Linked DNA regions of Homo sapiens: regions 2 and 3 are each linked to region 1. Evidence: promoter capture Hi-C in human tissues and cell types (Jung and others, 2019). All regions are on one chromosome and are shown on one strand. Each heading gives the region's core, a stretch centred on a gene start or on the middle of the fragment in contact. The rest is flanking DNA. Distances are from core to core; before and after follow the strand shown.

Region 1 (3,638 bases), core at 554-3,053:
AACAAAAAACAGGGCCTGGTGTGGTGGCTCATGCCTGTAATCCTAACACTTTGGGAGGCCGAGGCAGGCAGATCACTTGAGTCCAGGGGTTTGAGACCGGCCTGGGCAAAATGACAAAACCCCATCTTTACAAAAAATACAAAAATTAGCTGGACGTTGTCCTGGTGCGTGCCTGTGGTCCCAGCCTCTCAGGAAGCTGAGGTGGGAGGATCACTTGAGCCCAGGAGGTCGAGGCCGCAGTGAGCTGTATCGTGCCACTGCACTCCAGCCTGGGCAACAGAGCCAGACTCTGTCTCAAAAAAAAAAAAAAAAACCTAGGTTGAACCCAGGGTGTTTGCCTCCAGAGCCAGTGCTCCTAACCAACCACGCAGCCAGCCCCTTCTGAGTGCCCTGTAGACGCCTGCCCCTATTGGCATGGCCATCTGTCCTCCGCACTCACCCCATCCGCACACCCACACCCTGTCAGGGCCTTCTCTAGTCACCATCACTCTGACTTCCACCATTTCCACCATCCCGCGTCAGGCAGGATGAGGAAACAGGTGTTGTAACACCAGCAGGCAAAGGGTGCTGGGAGGACGAAGACGCTTGGTCCTGGGCTGGGGGAAGAGCAAACAGATCCCAGGCGCCTTCCTGCAGAAAGCCCCTGGAGGTAGAGTCAGAATTTGAACCCAGATCTGCCAGATTCCCAAGCAGACCTGGAGAGACCCACTGCGAGGTGGTGGCCCCCTGCGGGACCCTTCATGAGGGACCTCCTTGGTCTAGGACCCCACTTGGGACCTCAAACACTCTGCTGGAAGCTGCTGCGACAGAGCGTTTTTCTGCAGCCAGGGAACAGGATGGGGCAGGGCCTTCAAGCCTCAGTTCGCTCTCTAAGGAAGGAACCCGCACCCCCACACAGCATCTCTCTCCTCCACCTCCATCTCCCCTACTCGGTGGCCCACGGGTCCTCCCTGCCCACAGAGCAGCACTGGCCACCCATCCACTGTGCTGTCTTACCCTGCCCTCCACTGTCTGTTATTCCCTCACCGCTTGCTCCTTCAGGCAATGACTAGTGACTGTGCGCCTGCTGTGTGCCCATCCCTGTGAACCAGGCCGCTGCGGGCAGACGGCAGATGTACGGGGGCGTGCAAGGAGCAGAGAGCCAGGAAGGCTTCCGGGAGGAAGCGCCATTTAAGCTGAGAACTGAAGAGCTGATCAAATCAAGTACTGCCCATGGTCAAACAGAAGGCCAAGGTGGACGCAGGGACTGAAGGAAGGCAGTGTAGAGGAGGGCCGGGGGAGGAGTGGGAGGACACAGACGGGAAGACTGACCCTGCACTTCAGAATCAAGACGCAGCCACGACCACCAGCGGCCTAATGCTGCGTCCCGGCGCGGTCGGAGCTCTGTCCCATGCGCACCGCGGGGCCACCTAGGAGTGGCCCGGCTGCATCCACCTCCCGCGCCTCAACCCACTGACTTTTCATCACTACCCTGCGGGGCAGGTCAGCGGTCCCCGTTCCACGAAAGCAAAAGCCGAGGTCCAAAGAGGTTGAGTGCGGCCCCAAATCACACAGCTTGGCCAGTGGCAGTGTCGGGATTTGAACCCAGGGGCAGTTTCCCCGGATTGCTAACGTCTTCTCCGGGTCTCTGCCCCCGCCCCACACCAAGGGAGTGCTCGGAGGGGTTCCAGCCCCCGCTCACCCTCGAAGTAGACCCCCGAGCAGACCCGCAGCACGCGCGGGAGGGAGGCGGGGTCCAAGGCGCGCACGAAGTCCTGCAGCGGCACCGGCTCCATGGTCCCCGCGGCTCTCTGGGCTCAGACTGAGGGGCGGGCGGGCGGTCCCCGGGAGCCCTGCAGCCCCGCCCCGCCGATGCCCCGCCCCGCACGCCGAAGCCGCCCCGCCAGCCCGCGGGAGCCCTGCAGCCCCGCCCCGCCGAAGCCCCGCCCCCCGCCCCCTGCAGTACCCTATGGGGAAGGGGCGATGATGAAGATGAAGAAGTCCCAGACGCCCCCTCAGCAGTGCTCCCAGTTAGAAAAAGGGGACGCGGCCCGACTTGTTCTGCGTCTCATAGGAGGGACATGCCTCTGCCCTTTGGGTTTGAGGAGGGAGATGTAGTGTCAGGGCTCCCGAATGTCCCTCCAGGACACTCCATGGTCCTCTATCGGAAACCTCCTGGTGAAGGGGATCTCATTACCTCTCCAGAACTCCCATACTCTTTCGATAATTATTGTCTACGTTGGCCTCGAACTCCTGGACTCAAGTGATCCTCCCACCTCGGCCTCCCAAAGTGCTGGGATCACAGGTGTGATCCACCTGTGAGCCACCACGCCGGGCCTCACCAATTCTAGTTAAAAATTCTTCCTAAGGCTAAAGAGAAATCTGCTTAGAAGCCGGACCAACCACTTATCCTGACCCCACAGGCTCGGGATAAGCCTTTTCCATTTCCCTGTCCCTCAGGAGTCAGACCAACATAGGTTCAAATCCCAGGTCTCCTCTTGCTCGTTGTATGACGTTAGGCAAATCACTTTGATTGTGTGAACCTCAGTTTCTTACTCTCTAAAACAGGGAGAAGAGGGCCGGGCGCAATGGCTCACGCCTATAATCCCAGCACTTTGGGAGGCCGAGGCGGGTGGATCACCTGAGGTCAGGAGTTTGAGACCAGACTAACATGGTGAAAACCCGTTTCTACTAAAAATACAAAAAAACCTAGCCAGACGTGGTGGCACACACCTCTAATCCCAGCTACTCGGGAGGCTGAGGCAGGAGAATCGCTTGAACCTGGGAGGCAGAGGTTGCAGTGAGCCGAGATTGTACCATTGCACTCCAGCTTGGGCAACAAGAGCAAAACTCCGTCTCAAAAAACAAAAACAAAAACAAAAAAACAGGGAGAAGAGGCTGGGTGTGGCCTGTAATCCCAGCACTTTGGGAGACTGAGGCAGGAGGATCACTTGAGACCAGGAGTCCTAGACCACCCTGGGCAAACTAGCAAGACCCTGTCTCTTAAAAAAAAGAATAAAATAAAATAAGGCCAGGCGCGGTGGCTCACGCCTATAATCCTAGCACTTTGGGAGGGTGAGGCGGGCAGATCTCCTGAAGTCAGGAGTTCAAGACCAGCCTGGCCAATATGGCAAAACCCTGTCTCTACTAAAAATACAAAAAAATTACTGGGCACAATGACTCACGCCTGTAATCCCAGTACTTTGGGAGGCCAAGTTGGACAGATCACCTGAGGTCAGGAGTTCGAGACCAGCCTGACCAACAGGGAGAAACCCCGGCTCTACTAAAAATACAAAAGTAGCTGGGCGTGGTGGCACGTGCCTGTAATCCTATCTACTCAGGAGGCTGAGGCAGGAGAATCGCTTGAACCCGGGATGTGGAGTTTGCAGTGAGCCGAAATTGCATCATTACACTCCAGCTTGGGTAACAAGAGCAAAACTCTGTCTCAAAAAAAAAAAAAAATTAGCTGGGTGTGGTGGTGCGTGCCTGTAATCCCAGCTACTCGGGAGGCTGAGGCAGGAGAATCGCTTGAACCCGGGGGGGCAGAGGTTGCAGTGAGCCGAGATCACGCCACTTTACTCCAGCCTGGGTAACAGAGCAAGACTCCATCTCAAAAATAAATAAATAAATAAGTAAATAAATAAAATATCCAGGCATGG
Region 2 (3,638 bases), core at 334-2,833, 340 kb before region 1:
AAAATAGAGTTGTTCCTCCTATTGGCCCTACCCCTGCTCTATGGGGTTGGAATCAGACTTTCGTAGAGTGGGCCAGCCATTGCTCACAGGTTTCCACAGGTGATTCTAATATTCACTCTGATTGAGAACCACTGGGCCTTGTAAATTATAAAGTGTCCATTGGGCTATTTTTTTCTTTTTTGAGTTATTACGGTTTCTCGACATTTGCAAAAATAAAGGGAGGGGGAGTTAAACTCTTTTAATGAATGAAGGAGAAATGCAAAATTTTCTCATGTAAAAATGTCTCTGGGTGTAAAATAAATTATTATTTTTATGATGAAAATAAGCATTATGTTATTTGAGTACCATAAGACAATATAATTGTTATTCTGTTGATTTGATCATTCATATTTCTTTAGCAATTTCTAGAACTGTGTGCCAGCCTGTGTTCTAGAACATGGGGTACTATTCTAGATGCTGATTATAATATATATAATTACTGAGCAACTCTTAAATATACATGTAATTTATTTTCACCTTTTTTATGGTTTTGATTTTGATACTTCCAGGTTCTTCAGATAGATCCTGAAGTTACAGATGAAGAAATAAAAAAGAGGTTTCGGCAGGTACAGTACTATTTCCCTGTTTGAACTTTTTGAAAATGTATGAAGCACATGATTCTTTTATCACTTGCTATTATTGACTTGATATGTTTGGGCCAAAATTTAACTTTTTTTTAAGGCTGTGTAACTGTTTTGTAAAAAAAAGCTCATAATAATATATAAAATCTTAAATAATTTAATGACCATAGCTTACCTATGAATAGAATGAATTTTATATCCAAATAGAATCTCTGCAACTCCTTAATTAAGAGGGATAAGTATAAAGTAGAATAATAGAGCTTGCATGGAGTTGTAACTACCAAACCCCCTGTCTTCTAGGAGGGAACATATCAAATGATTCATAGCACATTTTTATCTTTAAGACTCCATTTGTCTGTAATTTTATCTTTTATTTTTATTCTTATTTTTCGAGACAGAGTCTTGCTTTGTCGCCCACGCTGGAGTGTAGTGGCATGATCTCAGGTCACTGCAACCTCCACCTCCTGGGTTCAAGCAGTTCTCCTGCCTCAGCCTCCCAGGTAGCTGGTATTACAAGTGCATGCCACCACACCCGGCTAATTTTTGTATTTTGGTAGAGACAGAGTTTCCCTATGTTGGCCAGGCTGGTGACGAACTCCTGACCTCAAGTGATCTACCTGCTTCAGCCTCCCCAAAATGCAGGAATTACCGGTGTGAGCCACTGCACCCGGCCGTAATTTTATCTTTTGCCAACTTAAATGAATACCTAAGAGATAACTGGTATAAAGAGTGCTTTTTGAAAGTTCTCCAGGAAAGGAGATCTATAGCTTCTGAATCTTGCCCATTCGTAGGTTTAATAACTGGAACTACAAAGTTTTAAAGTAAACTTAAAAAAAAAATCCTTCCAGTTTTGACAGCTGAGTAACCCTCCCCCCAGCCTTTTTTTCTTAAAAATTATTATTATTTTTTGAGACAGGGTCTCACTCTGTCACCTAGGCTGGAGTACAGTGGTGTGATCTTGGCTCACTGCAACCTGTGCCTCCTGAGTTTAAGCAATCCTCCCTCCTCAACCTCCCCAGTAGCTGGGACTACAGGTGTGCATCACCATGCTCAGATAATTTTTGTATTTTTTGTAGAGACAGAGTTTCGCCATGTTGCCCAGGCTGGTCTCAATTCTGGGCTCAAGCGATCTGCTGGCCTCAGCCTCTCAAAGTGCCATGATTACAGGCATGAGCCACCGTGCCTGGCTACCTTTTTTTCTGAGTTGAATAATCGTAGTCCCTATAATTTGCCTTTGCAAATTGGATTTTCTATATATTCCATGTCTTTTAAAAAAACTTTCCTTAGCTTCTTTATAGTCTTATGTACTTCATATTTTAATAGGGTCTGACCAGAGCTGAATGTAATTTTCAGCTTCTGATGAGATACTTGTTAATATCCAGTGGTGTGCTTGTTTCTTCAGTACAGTAATTTTCCCCATATTGCTGACTCATAGTCATTTTCTGATCTACAGTTAAGCCAAGATGTTTTTTAACTTGGTCTACGTAATCATATCCCATTATATAACTTTATAGCTTTTTTTTTTCCTTCCTAAGCTCTACTCTATACTTATATTTAGCTTTTTCCTTTTTCTAAAATTTCAAATTTTCTAATATGCATTACTAATCATTCCCATATTAATAAGCATTTAAGTTCATAGTCAAAACAATTTTTTATGTAGCTACATAAATAATAAGAGTTAAGAATTCTTAATAAATCATTAATATGGACTGATAGTTAAGAGTGTGCATATTGGAGCTATACAACTAGTTTAAATCTTGACTGTACCACTTAACAAGCAGTGTAAACTTGAGCAAGTTACATTTAACCTTTCCGTGTCTGTTACCCCGTTTGTAAAATGTAATAATGGTGTCTATCCCATGAGTTTGTTGTAAGAATTTAAATGATGTATTACACAGAAGGCATTTAGAGTAACTCTTGGCACATAATGTATCCTCACTATATGCTAACTATTGTCAGCGTGTGTTAGTCTGCTAATTTCTTTACTTGCATTGTTTGTTTCATTCTTATATCAGCCCAATTAGATATAGGTACATAGTATTATCTCATTTACAGAGCAGGAAGCGGAGGCAGAGATAGGTTAAGTGATTTGCTCGAGGTCTCATAGCTAGTAGGTGATTGAAGTTGGAATTAGAACCCAGCATAATGGTTCCAGTAATGCTGAACGGAGCGTTAGATTCCCATTTGTTCTCATTCCCCGACATAGTTCCCTGGGTTCCAACTAGTTGGTTTCTGTCAATTGACAATATGTCATGGTTTTTAACTGTGAGTATCTGAATTACCTATGAAAGTTCTTTTTTTTTTAGCTGGTTTATTATAAAAATTTTATATAGAAAAAAGAATGGACAAGCATAGTGGCTCATGCCTGTAATCCTAGTATTTTGGGACATTGAGTCGGGCAGATTGCTTGAGCTCAGGAGTTCGTGACCAGCCTGGGCAACATGGTGAAACCCCGTCTCTACAAAAAACGAAAAACAACAACAGCAAAAGCCAAAAATTAGCCGTGCCTGTAGTCCCAGCTACTCAGAAGGCTGAGGTGGGAGGATCACTTGAGTCCAGGAGATTGAGGCTGCAGTGAGCTGGGATAGCACCATTGCACTCCAGCCTGGATGATAGAGCAACACTCTGTCTCAAAAAAAAAAAAAAAAAAAAGAATAGAACAACGAATATTCATGTATCCACCATCTATATTGAATAGTTAATTTCATTTATATATATATATATATATATATATATATATATATATATATATATATTTATTTATTTATTGAGACGGAGTCCGGCTCTGTCACCCAGGTTGCAGTACAGTGTTGCGATCTTGGCTCACGGCAGCCTCCACCTCCTGAGTTCAAGTGATTCTCTTGCCTCAGCGTCCTGAGTAGCTGGTATTATAGATGTGTGCCACTGTGCCTGCCAAATTTTTGTATTTTTAGTAGAGACGGGGTTTCACCATGTAGGCCAGGCTGGTCTCGAACTCCTGACCTCAAGTGATCTGCCAGCCTCAGCCTTCCAAAGTGC
Region 3 (3,638 bases), core at 467-2,966, 290 kb before region 1:
AGGCATGAGCCATCGTGCCTGGCTGGTTAAGTTTATTTCTAAGTATGTTATTTTTTTTGAATACTGTTGTAAATAAGATTGTTTTCTTAATATCCTTTTCTCTTAGTCCATATAAAAATCTTCATTTACAAATGAGGAAACAGAGACTCAGAATCACAGGATGAGCTTAGTGGTTGAACCAGGATCTGACCCAGCTCTCGCCCTACCAGGCGGGAGTCAGATGGATACAGAGCAGGTCATGCCATCCCTTTGTCGCATTCCCTTCCCAGCTTTGAGGAACAAAGGTAAAAGCAGGGCCCCAGGTCAAAGGCATCTCTTCCTGGGGCCTCACAGCATCTGGAGCTCCCATTCTCAGGCTGTAAGACAGGTCTGTGAGTGGACAAGCTGGCCAAGGAGCAGTTTGCTTCTAGCAGGGGACACAGCTTGTTCTAGGAGAGTCAGAATGAACCTTGGAGTTCAAAATCCCAAGTCTGCCACTTCCCCGCTGTGTGACTATGGACAAATCTATTTTCTTCTCTAGTCTCACTTTTTACCCCTAGAAAATTAGGTATCTTGTAAAACCAGCCTCACGAAGATGATCTGAGGAGGAAATATGATCATAGGCAAGATGTACTGTATACCAGTAAATGGTGCCCAGTGTCTTGAAATTAGGGGGGCTCCAGCCTCATGATCCCCACAGAGCAAGGAGTACTTGGATCCAAGAGAGTGTGCCCACTTGGAATGTGGTGTTCCCCCGCCTTCACCACTTCTAGTCCTTGCCCTGTTGGTGAATGCACCCTCAGGCCTGCGGGGCTGCAAGGAACTGCTGGTGCAGGAGCTGTGGATGAACTTGGATGTATCTTATTTATAGCTTATAAATATTTAGAATTTTGTACTTTTGACCTCAACTGGCCCCACAAATGTTAAGAGCTAGCAGGACTGGTGAACCCAACTTCCCAACCCACAATCTGGCCTGGGAAATCAACCAGCACATACCTCCTTCTGTCCATCTCCCGATGGTCCCTCCTCTCTGGCTGTCCAGCTATGGATGAGAACCCCTTCTCCAGGTTCCCTAGGGACTGGGAATGTTTCCAGCAGGGATGAGGGCCGAATGCTGCACAGGGAAAAGGGTACCAGATCCAGACAGCAGAATTCTTCTGTCTCATGAATATTTATGGCCTCTCTACCCCACCCCCAGCTGAAGGCTGTGCCTGGGCCAGCTGCCCAGCCTCGATCCATCAGGGAACTGTGCCCATGTGTTAAACTGAGTGGTCTGAGCCTCTTCTTTTCTTTCCAAATGTTCATCCTCTTCCTGAGCTGTTGAAAGCTTTGTTGCCATTAGCTGGAGGCTCTATCTGGAGCTGGCAGGAAAGCCAGTGTGTAGGTCAAAGCCCCTAGGTCAATGTTGGCCCACAGTCCCCTCCCCTGGCTCCAAGCAGCTGGGCCAGTGGGGAGAGGGAGGCTTGGTCATTTGTGGCTCAGGTCCTGTTCCAGCCACTTTGCATACTTATCTTTGAAACCATTGTTAGGATTGTAAGATTTTGCAAATGAAGACATTGAAGGTTAGAGAGGCGAGGTCACTTGCCCCAGGTCATACAGCAAGTAAATGGTAAGCCAGGTATGAACCTGTAGACCTTTCTGACTCCAGAGACCTTGTTCTCCCTAACCCACTCCACCCCAGTACAGCTCCCCTGGGGAGACTGTGCACACTTCCTTTGTGCCGGGGATTTCGGAGCCATCATCAGGGCATGGCCACTCATCCATTCATTCCTCGGTGCCCGACACTGGGATTGAAGAGATGAAAAAGATCTAGTCCCTGCCCTCAGGAAGTGCCCAGTCTGACAAGGAAACAGCCACAGAAATTAATACTTAAAACATACTGTATCAGGTGCTAGACTGAGGAATGCGCCCAGTGCATAGGGACCCAGAGAAGAAGGCAACTCATTTTGCCTGTGGCGATCAGGGAAGGCATCCCAGAGGAAGTGCTTTTTCAGATTAGGTCTTAAGATGAGTAAGATTTTTCTAGGTAAAGCAATAGGCAAAAGCAGGCTGCTGGAAAGGCAAAGAGATTTGAGGAAAAATGGAGTTTTTAGGGAAGCAGCGAGAAATTCAGTGCAGCAAGAGTAGAAAATGAGTAGCGGGGAATGGTGGAAAATAAGATGGGAAAGGAGCTTAGACTTGATCCTGGGCCAGGGGAGCCACGGAAGATGTTAGCCCAGGCAAGTGTGTGGCTGGCAGTTGTTGGGGTACAACATGTCTCAGATTTCGGTGCGTGCACGAATCGCCTGGGAATCTTATTAACATATGGAGTCTTTTTTTTTTTTTTTTTTTTTTTGGAGACAAAGTCTCGCTCTGTCGCCCAGGCTGGAGTGCAGTGGTGTGATCTTGGCTCACTGCAACCTCTGTCTCCTGGGTTCAAGCAATTATTCTCCTGCCTCAGCCTCCAGAGTAGCTGGGATTACAGGCACCCACCACCATGCCTGGCTAATTTTTGTAGTTTTATTAGAGAGGGGGTTTCATTATGTTGGTCAGGCTGGTCTCGAACTCCTGACCTCAAGTGATCCACCTGCCTCAGCCTCCCAAACTGCTGGGATGACAGGCGTGAGCCACCATGCCCGGCCAACATACAGATTCTGATACAGGAGATCTGGGGTGGGACCCAAGATTCTGCATTTCTAACAAGCTTGCAGGTGGTGCCAATGCTGCTCGTCCAAGGACCACAGTTTGAGTCCTGAGTTTGTAGAGGGCTCACTCTGCCTTGTGTGGCAGCTGCTCTGTCTGGGGAGTAGGCAATCCTGTCGGTTGCTGGGTGTTTGTTCACCTGACAAATGTTTACCAAACTTTTGCCCCAGCCAAGCTCCCTGAGTACAGGGGACGGGGAGAGGAATTGAAAATGCCACTTTCTGGTCCATGCCACCACCATCTCTGACCTCCAAAATGCTCTTGCTGTTTCCACGCTTGCTCCCTACCATCTATTCTCTACCTGACAGCTAGAGCGAGTCCGATCATGTTACTTGCCTGCTTAGCGACACTGAAGCAGCTCTCCGAGGCTCACAGAATAAAATCCCAACTCCTTACCATGGCTCAGGAGTGATCTGCAGCCAGGTGTCCTCTGATCACATCCCACTCTTCCCATTTCTCACTCCCCTAGGGCCACACCAACCTTTCAGTTTCTTGTTCCTACTTCAGAACATGATGAAATTATTCCCATTACAGGCCCTTTGCACATGATACTCTCTGGCTGGAATAATCCAGATCGTCCTCTTACTTGTTCCTTTTTTCTTTTTTAGAGTTCAGCCAGGGGTAGACACAGATTTTATAGGTTACTAAAGCTTATACAATTTGAAGGGCCCCCCTTTGAAGATACCAAATTACAAATATACAATTAGATACAGGGCCTAGGAGAGGGCCTTAAAGCTTAAGCTTCATTGACTTCATGGTAAAGCTGTCTGTGGTTTTGTTTGTATGTCACCTCCTCCAAGAAGCCTTTCCTGGTCATTCTACTTAAAACAGCCACCAGCTGGGTGCAGTGGCTCATGCCTGTAATCCTAGCACTTTGGGAGACTAAATCAGGCAGATCACTTGAGCTCAGGAGTTCAAGACCAACCTGGGCAACATAGTGAGACCTTGTCTCTATTTATTAAAAAATAAAAATAAAA

The links. The method cuts DNA at HindIII sites, captures the fragments that hold promoters and counts their contacts. A contact is called where the count stands out against the background at its distance.
Region 2: a contact is called between a fragment that was not itself captured here and the fragment with the promoter of THEMIS2 in region 1, in 1 of the 25 tissues and cell types used here (spleen).
Region 3: a contact is called between a fragment that was not itself captured here and the fragment with the promoter of THEMIS2 in region 1, in 2 of the 25 tissues and cell types used here (bladder and dorsolateral prefrontal cortex).

Annotation. Positions count from the first base shown.
Region 1 is chr1:27,870,709-27,874,346 of GRCh38, reverse strand. It overlaps THEMIS2 (thymocyte selection associated family member 2), which reads right to left and starts at 1,803. Exons shown (of 6, transcript NM_001105556.3): 1 at 1,682-1,803. The coding sequence starts at 1,775. RefSeq lists a silencer at 1,686-1,955. The HindIII fragment of the contact is 20,371 bases long and covers 1-3,638 here.
Region 2 is chr1:28,211,907-28,215,544 of GRCh38, reverse strand. It overlaps DNAJC8 (DnaJ heat shock protein family (Hsp40) member C8), which reads left to right. Exons shown (of 9, transcript NM_014280.3): 3 at 549-605. Among named protein-coding and RNA genes, the nearest start is that of DNAJC8, 19 kb to the left of the region's middle. The HindIII fragment of the contact is 6,266 bases long and covers 1-3,638 here.
Region 3 is chr1:28,161,506-28,165,143 of GRCh38, reverse strand. The region is part of intron 1 of PTAFR (platelet activating factor receptor); the gene reads left to right. Among named protein-coding and RNA genes, the nearest start is that of PTAFR, 13 kb to the left of the region's middle. The HindIII fragment of the contact is 3,366 bases long and covers 34-3,399 here.